5 separate regions of the Homo sapiens genome follow, and regions 1, 2, 3 and 5 are each linked to region 4. The links are contacts of gene promoters, found by promoter capture Hi-C in blood cells and fetal thymus (Javierre and others, 2016). All regions are on one chromosome and are shown on one strand. The core of a region is centred on a gene start or on the middle of the fragment in contact, and the rest is flanking DNA. Distances in the headings are between cores, read along the strand shown.

Evidence for each region. The method cuts DNA at HindIII sites, captures the fragments that hold promoters and counts their contacts. A CHiCAGO score of 5 or more calls a contact.
Region 1: a contact is called between a fragment that was not itself captured here and the fragment with the promoter of ZNF397 in region 4, in 11 of 17 cell types (fetal thymus, activated CD4 T cells, total CD8 T cells and 8 more). The highest score is 16.8, in fetal thymus.
Region 2: a contact is called between a fragment that was not itself captured here and the fragment with the promoter of ZNF397 in region 4, in 13 of 17 cell types (total CD8 T cells, neutrophils, naive CD4 T cells and 10 more). The highest score is 13.3, in total CD8 T cells.
Region 3: a fragment that was not itself captured here is called in contact with the fragment with the promoter of ZNF397 in region 4 in 4 of 17 cell types (total CD8 T cells, naive CD4 T cells, naive B cells and 1 more); the score reaches 6.1 in total CD8 T cells.
Region 5: a contact is called between a fragment that was not itself captured here and the fragment with the promoter of ZNF397 in region 4, in 2 of 17 cell types (activated CD4 T cells and total CD8 T cells). The highest score is 6.2, in activated CD4 T cells.

Annotation. Positions count from the first base shown.
Region 1 is chr18:35,019,617-35,022,316 of GRCh38, reverse strand. It overlaps a transcript of MAPRE2 not described here. Among named protein-coding and RNA genes, the nearest start is that of MAPRE2, 20 kb to the left of the region's middle. The HindIII fragment of the contact is 667 bases long and covers 1,117-1,783 here.
Region 2 is chr18:35,380,360-35,383,151 of GRCh38, reverse strand. No RefSeq gene overlaps it. Among named protein-coding and RNA genes, the nearest start is that of ZNF396, 4.4 kb to the right of the region's middle. The HindIII fragment of the contact is 3,438 bases long and covers 1-2,792 here.
Region 3 is chr18:35,066,754-35,069,453 of GRCh38, reverse strand. The region is part of intron 1 of MAPRE2 (microtubule associated protein RP/EB family member 2); the gene reads right to left. Among named protein-coding and RNA genes, the nearest start is that of MAPRE2, 27 kb to the right of the region's middle. The HindIII fragment of the contact is 761 bases long and covers 1,010-1,770 here.
Region 4 is chr18:35,239,593-35,242,292 of GRCh38, reverse strand. ZNF397 (zinc finger protein 397) reads right to left here and starts at 1,259. Exons shown (of 4, transcript NM_001135178.3): 1 at 1,184-1,259. RefSeq lists a silencer at 1,078-1,207 and enhancers at 997-1,522, 1,468-1,577. The HindIII fragment of the contact is 1,449 bases long and covers 677-2,125 here.
Region 5 is chr18:35,086,582-35,089,281 of GRCh38, reverse strand. All of the region lies in intron 2 of MAPRE2 (microtubule associated protein RP/EB family member 2), which reads right to left. Among named protein-coding and RNA genes, the nearest start is that of MAPRE2, 47 kb to the right of the region's middle. The HindIII fragment of the contact is 833 bases long and covers 1,015-1,847 here.

The DNA.
Region 1 (2,700 bases), core at 201-2,700, 220 kb after region 4:
ACTAATTTGAACAAATTGCTTTGATATCCCTGCTAGCATCCTGGTATTTCTTATACTTCTTGTAATTGGATTCTTTCATTAGTTCCATAGATTTTTAGATGTTATGTTATTCTTTATTTTTTCTCTTTTACTTTGCTGGAGTTCATCTAGAAATTATTTTTTGAGAGATACAGAGACGTAAAGTTTTCAAACCTTTTCATGTTAGAAGTTATCTATTTGTTTTTATATTTTATTGATAGTTGAAATGTCCAAAATCACTTCCCTCAGAACTTTGAAAGCATGGTTCCACTGCTTCTGAGGCTTCAGAATTGCATATTGATGTCTATAACATTCAGGTGATCACTCTTCTGTATGTAATCACTCTTCTCTCTGACCCTCAAGCTCTAACATCTCTTTTATTCTGAAATTTCATGAGGGTGGACCTAGGTTTGGGTTTTTTAAATTCATCGTGGTCAACATTCAGTAGCCTCTTTTAATCTGAATCTTTATGCCTTTATTTCTTTGTCTTCAATGTCTTCTTGAAACTCTTCATAAAGAATGCCAGGCCATTTAGATCATTCTTCTATTTCTCTAATACTTTTCTAGTATTTTCTGTCTTTTCATCTTTTGCTTTATACCCTGTGATACTCTCAGCCACACTAAGTCCAATTGATTTTTGATTTAATTATATTTTTAATTCGCCAAAGCTCTTGCACTTTCTGATTACCTCTTATTCATAGCAACTCTTTTTTTCTGGGAGGAGTGGGGCCGTGAAGTTTAAGGGATGCAATACTTTTTGTCTGTTTAAGGATATTTATTAAACGTTTTCTTCTATTCTCTGAATTACTTCATCTAAATTAGCTATTTTATTTCTTTTTCAATTTTTGCTCTTATTTAGCTGGCAATATAATCCTATGCCCTTTCCATCTTCCAGAACTTTGTCCATTTCTGGTCCCCATTCATGTTTCTGTAAGTGTCATGGATTTGCTCTCCTTTTTAAATTTTGTTATTTCAGTTGAAGAGCTGGGAAGATGGGAGCAAAACTGTATTTAGACTGTCATCTTAAAACTCACGAATTTTTCTAGAATATACTTGCATCATGTTCAACATTTCCCTCATTGTCTAAAATATAAAGCTTAAGTAATGGTCTGGTATTTGGGACTCTGCACAGTTTGACCCTAGCTTATCTTTCTTCCTTAATCCTCCATTATTCACACTAAAGTACCAGGTTCTCTCTGCCCCCTTGAGATGGCCTACATTTCATTTCTCGCCTGGAATGTCCTTTTTCCTTTCATCTACCATTTTACACAGGCAGGCTCGGCTCAAAGACCACATCTTCTGAAGTCTTTTTGAACATTCCAGGATACCCCTAATTCTGTATCAGTTAAAAATATGTATTGAGTTCCATCCAGACAAATAATTCTGTTTCTTGTGCCAGCAATGGCAATTTTTCCAACCAGAATTTTCTTCTCTGCCATTTTTAGTATATAATCTAAAATCATTTTACCTAAATGAAAATTTAAAAGCAAATGCTTCATGTTTTTATGTCTCACTATACAACGAAAATATCAAATTTATGGACACAGCTTTTTAAATAAAGTAATGTTCTCGAGCCAGGAAATTTTTATTTTATAATTGAGGGGATACGTTTTCTTGAGTAGGAGGCAAGAGTGGTTAGATAGTCTTATTCGAAGACACCTTTACAGAAATAGGTTGCTTCTGGTCAGAGGCAATAATATCAGTATACAAATGTTCTAAGCACTCACTGCACATTTTTTTTTTTTTTGACAAGCCAAGGAAAGCTTTTCTCTAAGCTAAGCACTCACTAAAAGAGGGTGCAAATGGTTCAGGCCAGCTTATAAACCGAAGTAATGTTGCATGAATGGCATTACCTGACACAGGTTTGAACATGGCACTCACCAAGGGCGAAAATAAAGTTAAAGAATTCCATGAGAGAAACTACCAACCAAATATAAAGCATAGTCATTGCCTTGAAAAATCATAACAGAATAACACATCAGCATCCAAAGTAGGATTTAGAGTCCAGCTGGAGAATAAAATATCCTCATGGCCTAGAATCGAGTTCTTTAGGGAGGCACTCTGGGGCTTATCTTGACCTGTATTATTCATTTTTCCTTCTGTAGTTTGATGTTATCCTGATAATCTGTGATTCATCTGAATTGCTTTCTTGAAGACTGAAGCACAGCTAATTTTAGAACAGAGACAAACACATCATGCACACATTTTAAGCAGAATGATATTTGAGGTAAGGGGTGCTGAAAATCTGTGTCATCCACAGTACAAGTAGCCAGGCAACCTGAGGCCGAGCTGATTTTACAGAACTCAGAAGTATGTATTAAGTATCTAATGTCTGGGGAGATAAGTAAACTAGAATGCCTCATCCATTGTTCTTAAGAATATTATTATTTGGAAAGCAAAAATTATACATGTGAAAAAGGTTTTAAAAATCTGAGGTAATATCCAATCAGGAATTCCACGCTGTAATAGAAAACATGTTATATTCACAGGGATATGGGGACACATAGGTATGAGATTGCCACTCAGAGTATTATTTAACCAGTTATGATCTATAAGTTTCAGGCACACCAAAGTTAACTTTGAAACAGACTCCATATGGCAAACAATGGCAAGTTGGATAAATAATGGTCAACTCTACAGACTATTTGACACACATTAAAACATGTCTACAATCATGAATAT
Region 2 (2,792 bases), core at 232-2,731, 140 kb before region 4:
AAGTTAACAACCAATTCAATTTTAAAACAATGGGCTAAATAGAACCCGTCAACAGACTGGTCATTGTCAAGATTTATAGCTTGTGTCTTCTGTTAGACCCTGCCCCAAGAAAAATGCACATATGCACCTAGAAACATATATTTCAAGAGGTACCCAGCAATGTCTGTTAGAGCTTTCTGTGCTGATGAAAATGTTCTATACTTGTGCTGTCCATTATGGGAACCACTAGCCACATGAGGCTAGTGAGCATTTGAACTGTGGCAAGTGTGACTGAGGAATTGAATTTCTAATTTTAATTAATTAAAATTTAAATGTAATTAGCCACAGGTGTCTAGTGGTTACCACGTTGGGTACACAAAGAGCCACAGATCATGGGTTAAAATTCCTCTCAAATGCTTGTCTTCTCAAAGATTTTTTTTCTTTGAGACAATTCTTTATTTAGCAAATATGGAGACTCTCCCCATTGGCTGCTGTGGTGGGTTAAAAAATGGTCTCAAACGATATCAGGTCCTAATTCCTGGAACATTTACAAATGTTTACATCACATTTACCAATGTTACCTTATTTGGAAAAAGAGACTTTGCAGATGTGTTTAAATTAAGGGTCTTGAGATGGATAGATTATTCTGGATTATCTGGGTGGGACCTAAATGCAACCACATGCATCCTTATGAAAAGGACGTAGAGGGAGATTTGAAGATGTTGGCCTTGAAGATTGGAGTGATGCAGCCAGAAGCCAAGGAATGCTGACAGCCAAAAAATGCTGGAGGAAGAAAGGAATGAATTCTCCTCTAGAGCCTCCAGAAGGAGGACTGCCCTGCATGCTGTCACTTTAAGCCCAGTGAAATGGGTTTCTGACTTCTGGCCTTTAGAACTGTGAGGAAATATATTTCTGTTGTTTTAAGCCACCAGATTTGTGATAATTTGTTGCAGTGTCCACAGGAAGCTAATACAAGTGCCCACTGAAATCACCTGGGGAGCTTTAGCTACATTATTTCATTTAATCTTCAGATTATTATGATCCCAATTTTATAATCAGGAAATAAGGATTAGAGAATTTTAGGACTTAACCCACAGTAGCTTGCGGCAGAGTTGGGGAGTGAACCCAGGTTTGTCTGTTGACTTTGAGACCACATTGGATTTCATAAACAAGGGAAAGAAAAATGTGTAAGATGACTCCTAAGACTTACTGCCTGGAACATAGAGCTAACAGCAGTTTCACTATCAAAGCAAGGAATTTGGCCTATTGAGGGTGATGGAGAGAGAAGATGAACTCAGTTTGGGATACTTCCTGATATGGTTTGGCTTTGTGTCCCCACCCAAATCTCATTTTGTAGCTCCCATAATCCCCATGTGTTGTGGGAGGGACCCGGTGGGAGATGACTGAAGCATGGGGGCGGGTCTTTCCCCATGCTGTTCTCATGATAGTGAATGGGTCTCATTAGATCTGATGGTTTTAAAAACAGGAGTTACTCTGCACAAGCTCTCTTTTCTCTTGCCTGCTGCCATCCACGTAAGATATGACTTGCTCCTCTTTGCCTTCTGCCACGATTGTGAGGCCTCCCCAGCCATGTGGAACTGTAAGTCCAACTAAACCTCTTTCTTTTGTAAATTGCCAGTCTCAGGTATGTCTTTATCAGCGGCGTGAAAACAGACTAATACACTTCCTTAATTGTTTTCCCAACTTGATACTTTATTCACGTCTTCCACTAAGGGAGAGAGAGCTCCCCTAGTTCCCTCACACAAACTCTCATATCTGTTCACTGTGTGAAAAAGAGTCATTCGAAATCTAAGCTGCTAGAACTCTAAATTATTTTAGGACTTGGAAGAATGTTATTACTGATCCTGAGTCACATGGTAGGCACCTATAAACTAGGGAGCTATAACCTTCTGTTTCTCTGATTACAGATGAAGCCTTTTCCCTTACCTGCATTGTTTTGTAAAATGTTATATATGGCCAAAGGGAAGAGGAAGACCCCTTCCCTCTCCACTGTTGGCCTTTATTATAGATTCACCTTTCTCTTACCTTTCTCACACACAGACTTCTTGACTATCACATTGACTTAAGATAGAATGTTAAATACACTCTTTTAAATTGGAAACCAAATGAAAACCAACTATAAAGAAAACAAGCTATATGGAAAAGAAAACAAACTAACTAATTAATTTGTTGAAACTATTAAGCCAGCCTTGTATAGAAAATGTTGCAATCCTGATAAATTTCTTTGTCTTCTTCCTATATTAGCAAGATTTAACTTTTAACTTTGGAGCACTGATCCCATTTCTCTGGAGTCTGTGTGTCCTGGAATGGCTATTCCCAGCTTTTTGTTTGAATAAACTCTTTAAAACTGGATTCTGACCCTTTTATTATTTCAGGTTGACAAGTGTGTACCCACACTTGGACTCCTACACATACAACCCATCCACCACTTGCTTGGAAACCATAGTTCCATTGTAGGCAAATTGCTTTTTATTGCTCAATCTAAATTTCTTTTTTTTTTAATTTTAAAGTTTTTATTTTTGTTAATTTTTTATTTCAGTTTTGGGGTACATGTGGAGGCTTGTTATACAGATTAACTGAATGGGGGTTTGGTGTACATATTATCTCATCACCCAGGTAATAGGCATAGTGGGTAGTTTTTGAACCCCGACCCCCCACTCAAGTAGGCCCTAATGTCTATTATTCCCCTCTTTGTGTCCATGTGTACTCAATGTTTAGCTCTCACTTATAAGTGAGAACATGCAGTGTTTATAAACCTAAGTTTCTTTTTTTTTGAGACAGGGTCTCATTCT
Region 3 (2,700 bases), core at 141-2,640, 170 kb after region 4:
AAGTGCCAATAATCACATAATTTCACCTATAAGTGTTTCAGTGTGTCTCTGAAAAATAATTTTTAAAAAAAACAGAATATTATCACACCTAAAAATGAAAATAATTACTTATATCAAATATGCATTTCAATATATTATAATACAAATTTAACTTCAGATTGCTTGAATCTGGATTCATATAAGGTTCATACATTATGATTCTTTGATACATTCTTTAAATTTCTTTATAAAGTTTCTTCTCTATTTCTAATCTTTCCTTGCAATTAAAAAAAAAGTTGTTGTTGAAGGAACTAGGTTGTCTGATAGTTTCCACATTCTGGATTTTTCTCATTGTATCACACTGCTGTGGTTTAACATGTTCCGCTGTCCTCTGCATCCCTACAGACTGATAATTCCATCTAGAGCCTTGATCTTATTCAAGTTCTAATGGGACGGGGATTTGATGCCATCTAGCACAACTCTGGGCTTTGACACCTAATCCTCCATCAATACACTGCCTGGTAATGCAAAAGCTTTCCATTACTGCCTGAAGAAGAAACCAATAGAACAGCCCATCAGCTGCCAAAGGTTATGCCAGTATATGACAATTGCATCAAACAGACTATTTCACGCCGTGTTTGAACTTCCATCAGAAGGCAGATAACTATTACCTCTGACTGCCTGCTTCCATGATATTGTTAGCTCTGATATTTGCCTAGATCCAATAATTCACTAAAACTTCAAATATTCTATTATTCATTCTTGATTTATTAGCTGGAATAATTCTACAAAGAGAAGTTTCCCCCTGAGGTACCCTGAGATACAGGTCATCGAGGAAAGGCAGGAGAGGTGCCTAACTCTTTTTCTCTATTTGCCAGTTTTCAAAGTGATGAGTAGTTCCCTAATATTCTCCAAACATGACCAATGAAGTTTTTGTTCTTATATTTTGAAGTATAATTATGAATCCATGGACTTAAACATATTTGATATGTTTCAATCCATTGAAATTATACCTTTATTGATAAAAGCTTGCAAGAGCTTATTCAAGCTAGCCTCTAAGTTCTTTTGACACAGTCTTAGTGGTCTTTGATAACCTTCTTCTTTTCCAATATGACGAGATGTTCCAAGGCCAACTTGTATATTTCTTGCCTCAGACCTAAAACCAGTAATTTCTCCAAGCGCTCCTGATTCCTTTTAGTGAAAAATGGTATTTACAGATATAGAAGTAATATTTTTAAACATGACTAGATATAATAGCAAAATCTATAGTATATAGGTTTTAGACAAAAATCTACATTTTATGAAATAGTTGTGTTTGGAGTTCCTATTTATGCTCATGAAAGCAATAAAAATCTGTTTTCTACTTTAAAGTGCTAAATGAAGGTTTCATTTAGAAATAAATGTAAAAATAAATATCTATCACTCCATTCCCAGAAGCACCCTTATCTCTAAATTGTCTTCTCGTAAGGATCTGAAAAATCTCACAGCATAGGAATCTCAGATAGTGTGACCATAATTACTGCTTTGTACACCATTATTGAAGGTTTTTTACTTTTTGGTTAATAACTTCCACTGTTTTCTTTAGTCTATCATTTATTAAACGAAACCATTTGCTTTTTAAATGTAGTCAATTTTTAAAATCATCTATGTAAATTATGTATAATCTTAGTAAGGGTAAATAATTCAAAATTTAAAATATTTTGGACTGATGAAATGATCATATACTGGCATAACTTTTGGCAGCTGATGGGCTTTTCTAGCGGTTTCTTCTTCAGGCAGTAATGGAAAGCTTCTGCATTACCGGGCAATGTACTGATGGAGGATGTGGTGTCGAGGCCCAGGGTTATGCTAGATGGCACCAAACCAAATTGAGATGAAATTTTTAATCAAGATGATTTAAAAAAAATCTAAATGCAAAGCAGAAAAGACACAAACAGATCTGTGTTTTAGAAAAATAACCCATACACAAGTGAGTAAAAACGTTCTGTGGTTACATAAGAGAAATTAATATACAACAGAAGTACAGGTAGAAGAGTAATGACAGCTTTTTAAAAATCCATATAAACAAGGAAGCAGGTCATTTGCTGCAGTTTGTCAATAAATCACACTTTCCTCCAGGTCTTTGCTGATAACATTCACTTAAGGACAACAATTGTCCTTTCATAATGTAAACAGACATTCAGCTCACAAAGGTAAGTCAAGGCACTATCTGCCTTCAAGCAGTTCATTAAGATGATCAGGTAAACAATGAAAACAGCACCAGATCTGGGCTTTAGAAAAATTCTGGGTACTTAGTTACCAGGCATACCACTCAAATCTCCACCATTGCTAGCCAACACAGCTGTAGTCCTCACAAGCCCTGTGGCAGGGGCTACCATGTGTTAAGGGACCTGTGGGATAACTAGTTTAGAAGACAGATTAAGAATAAGTGAACCAATGAAGGCAAGAAATTTTTCACCATTTCCTAAAATAAAATAACAACACATTAAATGAGTAGACTTCAATACCTACTTCAAATTAATAACAATGAAATCAATATAGTTAATTTCTATTTAACACCCCTGCTGATGGGAATATTCTTATAATCGATCTTCCTCTTTCCAAATTTCAGCAAGGTACTTCTAAGCGCACTTCACTCTGTGGCTGTCTTTGCTCCCAATGTTTGCCCCGAACCCAAACAAGCCAGCTTTTCCGATTTTAGGCCTGAGAGTTCTGAGTCTG
Region 4 (2,700 bases), core at 10-2,509:
GTAGATTTGGGGCTATCACTAAATAAAACAATAATGTGATGATAAACTAAAAATCATTAACCTCAATTAGTGTCTCCCATTATGAAGAATTCCTACCACTAATGTTAGAAAAAACTATTTTAGAAGCCTAAGAATGTGAATGCAACATTAACATCAATCACATAGTGAGAAAATTTCCTTTCCAATTCTTTCAATTCTGATTGTATCAAGGAGAAAAGTCTATCTTTAACATGTATGTATTAATAAAACTTGTAGAACTCTCTTTTAAATAAAATACAGGCTTCAGAATCAGACTTCCAAGAGTAAAAATATTTAGGCAGAATTTAGTAATACTGATTTTAAACATTTATTTTTACTTACTTTCTATCTAAAGCAAGTAATGTTGATTTTCATTTAAGGCAGTAATAACGTTTTTTTAAAAGTTCACATTAAACATGAGTTGATGTAAATATTGGATATTTGTCATTTGATCGCATTTGGTGTTTACCGAATTACTTCAACAAACACTGAGGCACTTACTGAGCATTAAGATTTTTGCTTATGAATAAACGAGTCTACAGAGGAATTGACCAAGAACCAAGACGTATCTGTAAAATGCTTACCATGTGTTCAAAAACATGATAGGTATCACATACACAAAAGCAGCAAAGAGATCCGTATCAGTTCTGAAAAAGCTTAGAATATCCCAAGACTAAAAATGTTCAAAAGCAAAATATGGTAACAAATAGGTATTAAATGTTGTGACACAGACCAAACTTGACCTGCTTTTAGGATGGCGAGATATCGATAGGAATGTATGCCCTTAGTTTGTCAGGACAGATGAGTAAAATTCATTCCTCACACTACGGTTAACGTTAAGAGATGAATTAAAATATTTAGCCTACAAATTTAAGGTTTAACCAGTCCGGCCGCACTAACTAACTAACTAACTAGCCCTTCTATTTTTATATCCTTGGTTAAACCGCAGCATTTACGAAGTCACGGGGTCAGCGGAACTGCGTTTTCCTTTGGAAAGCAGGAGTTTGAGTGCTGGCCTCCTCTGAGTTCCCCAGTCGCTTGGAGACGCCGCGCGGGCCAAAGGGCCGCGACCTGGGGATGGGCAGGCCGAGGAGCGGAGCTCCTCCACTGTCCGGCGCGCGCTCCCAACCCCACCTCCCTCTTCCTAGGGGCCCACGTCCCTCACCGCGAAGCCCAGGAGCGGCCAGGAAATGAGCCACCCACCCCGAGCTGCAAGCCACAAAGACCGGAAGTGCGCGTACGCAGTGTTCCGCTCTCGCGCCCTTCGGGTCCTCCGCCGCCCCGCCCCTTGCTCTGAGGTAGCCAATCAGAGCCGCGGGCTCTACAGTTTCCACCGCCTTCTCCCGGTAGCCGCTAGCCCGGCGGAATCTCCAAGGCCAGGGGAGGGTGCGCTAGGAGTCAGGGGTCCTTGTGAGCGGCGGCACCTGGAGGGTCCCGCATCTCGCCTGGGCCGTTCCCACCCTGGCTTTCTCCTGGCACCACCCATCATTGTTGGTCTCAAGTAATTCCCGAATCTCACTCCCAGTTTTCCATTAAAATATTCAGATTTTCGGCCGGGCGCGGTGGCCGAGGCGGGCGGATCACGAGGTCAGGAGATAGAGACCATCCTGGCTAACACGGTGAAACCCCGTCTCTACTAAAAATACAAAAATTTAGCTGGGCATGTTGGCGGGCGCCTGTAGTTCCAGCTACTCGGGAGGCTGAGGCAGGAGAATGGCGTGAACCCGGGAGGCGGAGCTTGCAGTGAACTGAGATGTGCTGCACTCCAGCCTGGGCGACAGAGCGAGACTCTGTCTCAAAAAAAAAAAAAAAAAAAAAACCTCAGATTTTCCTGTGATTCCAGTTCTTTTCCGACAAAAGTAAATGTAAGGATGAATAGGCTGAACAAAAACTAACAGTCACTTATATTGCTTTTGCCTATGAGTATCACTGGAGCCTTACAACAGTTCTGTGCTGTGGCTATATAATCCCAAATTTACAGCCGTAGACATCGCCCAAAGTCAGGCAACTTGTGACCAGGGACGTCCACGTCCCCATAGTTCAAGGAGACTGGTATCGTAGACTCCTGGAGCCTATCTTAGGGTCTTCCCGTTCTTCAGTGGAAGCTTGCTGGTATTGTCTCACTGTTTAAATTTTTCTTTGGCTATTTAGTCGGTGAAAAATGATGCCTCATGTTTCAACTTTGTGAGCTTAAGATAGTCCCCCTTCATGTTTACTGACCATTTATGGTTCTTCAGAGATGGCTTTTCCCATTTAAAAAATTAAGGGAGTAAGATTTTTCTTTTTTATTTGTGAGAATTTTTTGCTTATTAAGGATAGCAACTCGTTTGTTGCAAATCGTTTCCCATTTATTTGTATTTATTTTTAAAACGTTACATTTTACATGTTTAAATGTTACATATTTTTAAAATGTTATATTAAAAAAGTACACAGGATAATAACAAAGCGATACATACATACATAGAAACAAATTCTCCTTTGTGAGCCAAGACTTAAAACACATATTTGAGAAAAATGTTCGTTAGCATTCAAAGCTATTAGTGACTCACTAAATAATTTTATCATTGTGAAATGACTACAGCAATTTTACAAAGCAAAAAACCAAATAATATTAATTTGTTTATAAATTATCAATTGCTTCATAATGAACCACTTCAAGACTTAGTGACTAAAAACAGCAGA
Region 5 (2,700 bases), core at 182-2,681, 150 kb after region 4:
TTGTGCTTTTGTTGTTATAACCAAAAACCACTGCATAATCCAAGGTCATGACGATTTATACCTCACGTTCTTTGAGAAACTGCATAGTTCCTATCAAAGTTCAACTCTCTACTTGTGCTCTGGGTCACGTCTCCTCTTACTCACTGAGTCATTCCTGCTGCTATCCTCATTCTCTCCTGCAATGCAAAATTCTTCCTGCATATGTTATTCCTAAATCCTGCAAATATGCTCCAGTATCATTCAACTTTGACAAAATAAAACCAAAGTTTCTTGATCCCACATCATCCTTGAGCTATGTACTATCTCCTCCTCTTCACAGTAAAACTTCAAATGGTCTCTGTTTTCATTGTTTCATCTGACATCCAATTCAATTTAATACAAATTCAATTGTCTTCCAACCTCACCATGTTCTGGTCAAGGTCATCAAAAGCTTCTCTGCTATCAAATCAAACAGTTGTTTTTCTTTCTGCATCCTACTCAACCTCTTAATAGTATTTGGCCTTATTGACCACCTCTTTTGCTCTTGAAATTCTATATTTTCTTCTTTAATCAGATAAAAATAGATGTCAACAAACTGAAATATTCAGGAATCATTGCCAGTGTCCTGGAAGTCTTACCCAGCCACAAATCAGAATGTTCCTCATCAACAGATACACAGACTTTTGTGCCATTTAACTACCCTTGCAATAATGTGAGGTACATTTTGAATAAACACAATTTTATCTCATTATGCCACGGTTACCCTTATTCAGATCACATCCCTCTCCTGCTAAGAATATCACAGTGGTTTTCTATGAAACTATCATAAAATCCAAATTCCTTCCCTGGCTTAAAATACCCTGTTATCAGGCCTCTGTCTATTTCTCCCTTGTCTAACTTCCTTTTAGGAAGCTCCCTTCATGCTGGCTTCCTTGCTGTTCCTAGAACACTTCAGATTTGCTCCTGAATTAGGACCTTTACACAGTTTCATCTAGAACTTCACATGGTGACCTTCTTGACATTCAGATGAAAGCTTATATGTCATCTCCTCAGAGAGGTCCTCCCTTACTATGCCACATGAAGTAGCCTTCTAAGCACTCTTTTTCACCTCATCCTGTTTTATTAACTCTTATGTTGGCATTGTATTAACTCTTATGTTGGTGCTATGGTTTGGATATCCCCTCCAAAATGCATGTTGAAATTTATTTGCCATTGTGATGGTAATTAAGAGGTAGGACCACTAAGAGGTAAGCAGTCCATGAGGGTTCAGCCCTCCTGAAATGGATGAATGCCATTCTTGGGAAAGCAATTCGTTATAAAAGGGCAAATTTGGCTCTTGTTCTCTCCCCTATTGTCTCTTGCATTTCTGCCATGGAATGACGCAGCATGAAGACCTTTGCCAGATGCTGGTTCCCTGATCTTGGACTTCTTAGCCTCCAGAAGAGGAAGACAATAAATAACTGTTCATTATAAATTACCCAGTTTGAAGTATTCTGTTATAGCAGCATAAAACAGACTAAGAGAGTTTGTGGCTTATTTTTTCCCTCGCTGCAATATAAGTTTCAAGAATACTTGTGCCTTATTTGTCTTGGTCCCCTATGTATCTAAACATTTAATACAGTACCTGGCATAAGTGGGTTTCAATAAATATCTGGCTAATGAATGAAGATCTGCATAGCAGTTGAACCACAACAAGGGCTGGTAAACAGTAAAATTCTTATGTTGCCAAACTCCCCAAAGAGATATTATGAGAAGAGTTGCTAAAAATTCTTTTAAGAATTGACGAGGTATAAATAAAATTTTTTAAAGCCACTCAAATATAAGAATGACCCTAGAGACCAAGTCTGCAGAAAAGTAAAAGATAAGCTTTAAAAGCTAAGCATAGGGTAACACATTCAAGTAACACAACCCAAATTGTAGGATGCTGTGCCTACTAAGAGGTTAATTATGATGGGATATACTCTGAGCCCATAAGCTCAAGGTGCTGCTGCAATTGTGAAGGTCTACAAGATTCTGAAATGATCTGGAAATAAGTAGGGGGGAAAAAACTATTCTTTCTACACTGTCTGTACCCCTGCAGCCCTAAGATTGGTTTCAGTTGTTATACATCAAAATTGACATAATGAAGCTGACAAGTGTGAGGACAGGAATAAAAAATGAACAGCTGGGAGGCTGTATGAAGATGGCAGAGCTCAAAAATGAACATTCATACTCAAAGGATTCAGGAGTGTATGATTTAAGTCTATAAAATCATGAAAAGCCTAAGACAATTTCATTTTCACCAGATCCCAGGATTTCAACCATAGAGTAATATCAGAATAAATGGACATTTTTAAAGTGGAAATTTTCAGATAAAAGGAAATATTACTCTAATAACAAATTTATGGAATATATTACGCAAGAAACATAAGACATAAAAACACCCACATTTGGGTAAAATCTGTTAGCGTTTTCATATGTATTTTAAACATTCTGAATCCCATAGTATCCTTAAGAGGTAAGTATTTTTATTATCATTCCCATATTTTACAGGTATGGGAACAAGGCTCAGAAAGTCACCCAGCTAAGAAATTGCAGAGTGGAATTTAAACTCTGATCTGAACTTCAATTTTTTTTTTTTAAGAAAAACATTCCTTTTTTCTATGCTGCTTTTAGGAAATTATATGTAAAAATTGAAAGGTTCAAAGAGTGTTTGGAAATTTTTATAGATTAAGTTTTAGA